Linked DNA regions of Homo sapiens: region 2 is linked to region 1. Evidence: promoter capture Hi-C in human tissues and cell types (Jung and others, 2019). All regions are on one chromosome and are shown on one strand. The core of a region is centred on a gene start or on the middle of the fragment in contact, and the rest is flanking DNA. Distances in the headings are between cores, read along the strand shown.

What was found. The method cuts DNA at HindIII sites, captures the fragments that hold promoters and counts their contacts. A contact is called where the count stands out against the background at its distance.
Region 2: a fragment that was not itself captured here is called in contact with the fragment with the promoter of CYB5B in region 1 in 4 of the 25 tissues and cell types used here (bladder, hippocampus, liver and 1 more).

The regions. Positions count from the first base shown.
Region 1 is chr16:69,422,133-69,426,095 of GRCh38, forward strand. It overlaps CYB5B (cytochrome b5 type B), which reads left to right and starts at 2,487. Exons shown (of 5, transcript NM_030579.3): 1 at 2,487-2,725. The coding sequence starts at 2,552. RefSeq lists enhancers at 1,770-2,317, 2,318-2,865. The HindIII fragment of the contact is 13,364 bases long and covers 1-3,963 here.
Region 2 is chr16:69,479,571-69,483,533 of GRCh38, forward strand. No RefSeq gene overlaps it. Among named protein-coding and RNA genes, the nearest start is that of CYB5B, 57 kb to the left of the region's middle. The HindIII fragment of the contact is 7,934 bases long and covers 1-3,963 here.

The DNA.
Region 1 (3,963 bases), core at 1,237-3,736:
TGAAATTCATACTGCAGTTACGTGACAATATGTTCTTATTTTTAGAAGATACATGTAGAATTATTTGGCTGTAAAGGGTGGTGATATCTGAAATAGTTCAGCATTATTAACAACAATGATCAAAATAATATGGAAAAAATCAAATATTGAAAAATATTAACAGTTGGTAAACCTAAGCTAAAAGTATATGGTCATTCATTGTATTATTCTTGTAACTTACTTATTTGAAATTCTAAAAACATTTTCAAATATAATGTTACAGGTATATATCACTTAAGTGCTAGAATTTGTAATTTTTTTATTTTTTATTTTTATTTATTTATTTTTATTTTTTTGAAACAGGGTTTCGCTCTGTCATCCAGGCTGGAGCACAGTGGTGCGATCATACATCACTGCAGCCTCGACTTCCCAGGCTCAAGCCATCCCCAGATCTCAGCCTCTCAAATATCTGGGATTACAGTTGTGTGCCACCATGCGTAGATAATTTTTGTATTTTTTGAAGAGACAAGAGCCTCACTATGTTGCCCAGCCTGGTCTTGAACTCCTGGGCTCAAGTGATCTGTCCACCTCGGCCTCCCAAAGTGCTGGAATTACGGGGCTTGAGCCACCACATTCAGCCTGTAAATGTTTTTATTTCTTTCAGAGATTTTGTTTCTTATGTTATCTCTCTACTCCCAATGCCTATCATAAGACTTGTAACAGTAAATAGTAAATGTCTGGAATAAATGTAAATATTTGAATCTAGAGTTTGTGGAGGATCCTAAGAATCTTGTGAGATTGCTCTCATAGTGTCAGTCTAACTAGGGAGGTAAAATACGTAAAGTTAAAATTTACAGACGTAGCAGGCTTCCCAAAATAGTAATATGCTTTCTTAGGTACTACAAAGGGATGGAAGCACTGGAGCTCAAAACGGTAGGAGAAGTTTGAAAATAGAAGAAACTGAAGAGGAACTTGAAAAGCCGGTAGGCATTGAAAGGAAGAGGAGTCCTTGGGACAGCAATTGAGGGTAGAATGTGGAGTATCCCATGTTTCTACCACCATTCAGAATCCGATTTTCAAATGAATTCTGTGATGATCAGGATCAATCTGCACTATTTTAGTCTCTAAGTGATCTAAAATTAACTTGGTGGACCTGGGATGACCACGGATGTGGTTTTAAACCAGCAGGTTTCAGAGTCGGGGCGGGTGCAACAGGCTTATAAAGGGAATGGTGGAAAATATTATACGTTAGTGAAAGAGGTTGCGAATGGATTGTGGAGAGCCCTGAATGGTAGACTGCGAGAGTGACAGGATGAAAACGACGACATCATAGGAAGAGCAATCTGTCAGTTGTAATGGCAGTTAAAAAGTGGCGCACAACACTGTACCTTAACCAAACTTGGAATTCCAAAGTGCTGGGACCTCTAGCGGAGAGCAGTTGAGTTCAATTCTATTTTAGATCACGTAGAGACTAAAATAGTGCCGATTGATCCTGATCATCACAGAATTCGTTTGAAAATCGGATTCTGAATGATGGTAGAAACATAGGATACTCCACATTCTACCCCCAATTGCTGTCCGGGACAGCAATTGCCTTTCTAATCGACTGCCATGTTTAGCGATTACTATGCGCCAAGCGCTTTACAGGCACTCTCATTAAAATAGGCAAACCGGGCCAGGCGCGGTGGCTCACGCCTGTAATCCCAGCACTTTGGGAGGCCTACGCAGGCGGATCACCTGAGGTCAGGAGTTCGAGACCAGCCTGGCCAACATGGTGAAACCTACTCTCTACTAAAAATACAAAAATTAGCCGGGCGTGGTGGCGCATGCCTGTAGTTCCAGCTAGTCGAGAGGCTGAGGTAGGAGAATCGCTTGAACCTGGGAGGCGGAGTTTGCAGTAAGCCGAGATCGTGCCACTGCACTCTGGCCTAGGAGACAGAGCGAGAACTTGTCTCAAAAAAAAAAAAAAAAAAAAAAAAGGCAAACCCCTCTGTAAGAGAGTGCTTTATCAAGCCCATTTTACTGATGGGGAAATTGAGGAGAGACGGGATTGGCCAGATCACGACCTGGAGGCAGCAAAGATGTAAAATCAGGGTTGGGATACAGGCTGCGCCGGTAGTGTAGGGGATAGGAACTTTCTGAGACTCAGGAGAAAGCCACAGCGATGGGAAGGGAAGCAGAACACTGGAGACCCTAAAGGCCCACAGGCTGAGAGAAGTGGTACCTCTCCTGAAGTGACACCTGTCAGCACGCCTCTTTTGGGCGCCAGTCCAAAAATCGCGGTATCTGATTGGCGAGGTTGGAGGGGGCTGAACGACCCTAATTGGTTAGTTGGACCTCGAACCAGACTTTCATCTGGAGGATCGGGCGAGGAGTGGGCGGGATTTCGAACTGAGCCACTCCCTTCATTGGTGAAAAGAAAACGAACCAGGAACTATTCGGAAGTGTGATTGGCTGTTGCTAGGAACCGTCTCAAGGCCTTATGGGCCCTGGTTACGGAAGCCGAGGAAGGCTGAGCGCGGGCTCTCAAGGAAAGTAGTCGCGGAATCTCAGTTAGCGGTGGAGAGGCAGTATGTCCGGTTCAATGGCGACTGCGGAAGCTAGCGGCAGCGATGGGAAAGGGCAGGAAGTCGAGACCTCAGTCACCTATTACCGGTTGGAGGAGGTGGCAAAGCGCAACTCCTTGAAGGAACTGTGGCTTGTGATCCATGGGCGAGTCTACGATGTCACCCGCTTCCTCAACGAGGTGGGGCCTGGGAGGTGGGAGGCCTCTGAAGCTGCTGGGGCGAGGGGTGAAAAGGCTGTGTGGAGTGTATGTGGGAAGGAAGGGAGGCTTGGCTGGGGGCGATAAGGCGTAAGAAAGGGATCACGACCCTCAGAGGGAAACTGGGGTGGGATTGGGGGAGGGCTTTAGTTTGCATGCATTTCCAGTCAGCTCCGAGTTCTGGTGCCTTATGTAATATCATGTATTACTTATGTGTCGAGCATTTGCTGTGTGCTCAGCTAAACTCTAAGCCATCATTATCTTTATTTTACAGAAAGGGAAACTGAGGCTCACAGGTTGAGGACTCTCAGGGCCATAGAGTTAGCAGCTTAGATCCGTTGAACCTAGGTCTGAAGTGCACCCACATCTGTGCTTTTCCAGTGTGCCTTCTGAAGTAATACCGGTTTTGGTTTTCGTCTTCTAGAGTAGAAGCTGAGATTTCTCTCCACACGCTTCCCCATCTTGATTATGCCTCCACTGTTTTTTTTTCCCCCTAATCTGAGTTGACCTTGAGGCCAGAAACTCATAAATCAACCCTTTTTTTTTGTTTTTGACTCATGTTTTGTCATTTTTCTTAAATATTCAAGACTGTTTTATTTAATCTTCAAGTCTGTTGCATTACATCTCATTTTAAAAATTATTTTTGAGACCATGGTGCAACTAATTTTTTTTTTAAGGAAACAGGATAGACTTCTAAATATTTAAAACTTTATTGAGGTGTAATGTACATACGTAAATTGTGCCTATCTAAAATGTACATTTTGATGAGTTTTGAAAAATGTATTCATCCATGTTAAGACATAAACCATTTCCATCATTCTAAAAAGCTTCCTTTCCCTTTGCAGTCATTCTCTCCCAACCCCAGGCAACTAGTGATATGCAGCCGCTAAAGATTGGTTTGAAGCTTTGATTTTCGGTGTGTGTATGTTTGAAGCTTTGATTTTCGGTTTGTGTGTGATCATTTTATTTTGAGCAATAGATTAATGACTTGTGAAAGTTCACTTCTATTTCTCTGAAGCAAATATACTAGTGAAATATTTTTTCGATTAATTTGGGGCCTAAAAGAGAAATCTCTGCATCCTGACTTTTAATTCTAAAAACTTTTAAAATTTAAAAGTTTCCCCCAAAGAACATTATTTTTAATAAATCTTAATAGTGAACAATAATTTAACAAACTCAGAATTTACTAACTTCTTGCATTTGTATGGTGTATGGCATTT
Region 2 (3,963 bases), core at 902-3,401, 57 kb after region 1:
GCTGGGATTACAGGTGTGAACCACCACACCCACCTCAATCTACTGTTAATGGACATTAGGTCATTGGTTTTTTTTTTTGTTTTTTTTTGTTTTTTGCCAACAATACTACTATGAGCATTACTGCGTTTATAGCCTGGTTTGTGTGTGCAAGAATGTCTCCTGGATGTATACCTTGGAGTGGACCTGCAGTGTTGAGCCTTCCTTTGATTCACATCCTTGTCTGTTTGGGTTCTTTTCCATGCAGATGCCAATAACTGGGACCACAGGATAAAGAAAGTACTGGGTAGCCCCATGGAAAACACAGTATGCTTCCTCAAAAAGTTAAACATAGAGTTACCATGTGACCCAGCAATTCCACTCTTAGATATGTACCCAAGAGTATTGAAAACATGCTCACACAAAAACAAGTATGCCGATGTTCATAGCAGCTTACTCATAATAGCCCAAAGGGGCGGAAATGACCCAAACGTCTATCACCTGATGAATGGGTAAACAAAGTGTGTTGTCTCTATATACTGGAATGTTATTCAGCTATAAAAAGAAATCAAGTATTGATACATGCCCCACCATGGGTGAACCTTAAGAATACTGTGCCTAAGTGAAAGAAGCCAGACACAAATGACCACATACTGTAACTTCCATTGGAATGAAAAGTCCAAAATAGGCAAGTTCATAGAGACAGAAGGTAGATAAGTTGTTTCCGGGTGCAGGGGGAGGGGAGATGTGGGGAGTCACTGCCAAAGGGCACAGAGTTCCTTTTTGAGGGGATGAAATTAGACAGTGGTAATGGTCTCATCTCATATGTTTGTGAATACACTGAAAAACACTAAATTGTATACTTTAAAAGGGTGAATTTTGTGGTGCATAAATTCTTTTTTTTTTTTTTTTTTTTGAGATGGAGTCCTGCTCTGTCATCCAGACTGGAGTGCAGTGATGCGATCTCAGCTTACTGCAACCTCCGCCTCCTGGGCTCAAACCATCCTCCCACCTCAGCCTCCTGAGTGGCTGGGACTACAGGCGCACATCACCATGCCCAGACAATTTTTGCATTTTTAGTAGAGACGGGGTTTCCCCATGTTGGCCAGGCTGGTCTCAAACTCCTGACCTCAAGTGATCCACCTGCCTCGGCCTCCCAAAGTGCTGGGATTACAGGTGTGAGCCACCACACCCGACCCATAAATTCTTTCTTAATAAAAATGTAAATAAAATCACAATATCTTTATCATTGATTTATGTATTCAAAACACACGCATTAAGTACCTAAGACACGCCAGACATTCCCCAGCACGTTGCTGGGAAACACTGTATGAGTCAGACGTGGCCCCAGTATTGATCAGAACCATCCCCAGGCTCCTGACAGGTAACAAATGGCACATTCAAAAAGGGTCGTTGAGGAGAGTTTCATGAAGGGACATTTGCAGCCATGTGTGCAGGGCAGAGAGGAACTAGTTGAAGGCATGGTGAAGCATTTCAGGGTTGGTGACACATGGCAGCTGTTACTGCCCAGACAGGCAAGGGGAGAAAGTGGTTACTAGAGCCTGGTAAGGGTTGCAGCAGAGGGAGCGGGCAGGGTCCACAGCAGGGAGGGAGCCATCCTGGCCTCATTGTCCTCCACTCTCTCATCTCCTACTTGTGCCTCCCCTTAGGGGACACAAACCGGAAGCCTTTGGAGTTGGGAGCTTGGGGATCCTCCGTGGATGGGAACTGCGCGTGGGCGACCCAGGAGTCTGCAGAGACCCCCGAGGCACAGTCCCCATTGGTCAGCCTCCTGAGCTGTAGGCAGGAGGGGAGAGGGCTGGAGAGTGAATCGAAAGAAACAAACACAGTATGTCCAGCTGTTCCCATCCTCATAGACTCTACTTTTTATTTTTTATTTTTTTATTTTTTGAGCAAGGTCTTCCTCTGTCGCCCAGGCTGGAGTGCAGTGGCGTGATCACAGCTCACTGCAACCTTGACCTGCTGGGCTCAAGCGATCCTCCCACCCCAGCCTCCCCAGTAGCTGGGACTACAGGCCCATGCCACCACTTCAGGCTAATTTTTTAATTTTCTTTTTTGTAGAGACAGGGTCTCACTATATTGCCCAGGCTGGTCTCAAACCCCTGGGCTCAAGCGATCCTCCCACCTACCTCGGCCTCCCAAAGTGCTGGGACTACATTCGTGAGCCCCTGTGCCCAGCCAGCTCTACATTTTGAGTGAGGAGACAGACAGAAAAATGAAATAATTACAGAATGTGATCAACAAACAGGCTGGCATGAAGGAGGGTATCTTGGTGTGTGGGTGGGTGATGGGGTCACTTCAGATCTGGTGCTTGGGAGGATCTTTCCAAGGAGGAGGTGCTGCTTCAGCTGGGACCTGAAAGATGAGCACCTGGGTGATGAAGGCACTGTTTATTGAGATAAGAAAGCTTGGAGGAGAAACAGATTTGGGGAAGGAAACCAGGAATCCCCCTGGTTTCCTGTAAAGATAGGACATATATGCAAACACAGAAAAACAACAACTCCAGGCCCAGTGAGAATCCCTGGGGCTGCTGGAGAGGCTGAGCTGGAGCGGATGGCTGTGAGCTGACACCCAGGGCCTGCCTCTCGGAAGCCAGGACATGTGTGGACTGCGCCCTCCCTGGAGGTTACACGGAGTGCTGGCGCAGCACGCTGGCTCCGGGCCCTCCCGCTTGCTCTCAGGGCTCCTTCCAGCGTTCACTGGGACATTTGCCATGTCCTAGGTCCTTCTCTTACAAAGGCAAGAAGGGCCAGGCGAAGGGAGTGTTCGCCGAAAACCAAACGTGACACAACCTTAAATATAGGCAGGTGCTCTGATCTGATAGCACGGGTGGCCCCAGGGAGAAACATGGACTTGCCAACCATGAAGGGTCCAAAAATCTACTTAGAAAAACACTGAGGCCCATGATTAATACTGAGGTGCCCGGAGCACCAAGAGAGAAAAGCAGGCCCAACATCCTGGCTGGAGCAAAGTCAAGAGAGAAGGAGAGAAGGCAGCAGCCAGCACATGGCTCCTCCTGCGATGGGTCATCGCAGCATCTCTGTCCCGGCATCAGCCAGGGCCCACCTTCGGGTGCTTCCAGCCCACTCGACTCGGCACATCGCTGTATTTTCTTCCATCGAGATCTCTCCCCACTGGCTCTTTGCCCAGCCAGTTGCCCACAGACTGGAAAACAAAAGCTCACTGCCTTCCCTGGGGACCTGGGCTTAAGGGATGGGCCTTGGGCAGGCTGGGCGGATGCTCTGTTGATTTTTTTTTCCAAGTGCAGAGAATGTGACAGCCAATTCCTGTTGGAAGTGGCTTTTGTTTTCTTTGGAGCATGAAGCACTTTTCCTTTCTCTTGATTGTTTCAGTTCAGGTCATGTTTAGGATGGAGATGATTTGCTAGCCTAATTGCATGCCTTCCAGAACTGTGGTTCTTAACCTTTTGGGACACAGATCCTATTGCAAACCTGATAAAAAACTACAGACCAGTTCTCTAAAACACACACACACACACACACACTCTCACACACACACACTCACACACACACACACACACACTCACACATGTAAATGCCCCAAATTAAATTTTTATTTGTTAAATTTTATTTAAACTTTAAAAAATTTTAAAAAATAGGCTGGGCATGGTGGCTCACACCTGTAATCCCAGTACTTTGGGAGGCCAACATGGGTGGATCACCTGAGGTCAGGAGTTCGAAACCAGCCTGGCCAACATGGCGAAACCCCGTCTCTACTAAAAAATTAAAAAATTAGCTGGGCGTGGTGTCAGGTGCCTGTAATCCCAGCTACTCGGGAGGCTGAGGCAGGAGAATCATTTAAACCTGGGAGGTGGAGGTTGCAGTGAGCCAAGATTGCACCATTGCACTCCTGGGCAACAGAGCAAGACTCCATCTCAAAAAAAATATAATAATTTTTTTTTTAAAATAGAGATGGTTGTCTCACTATGTTGACCAGGCTAGTCTC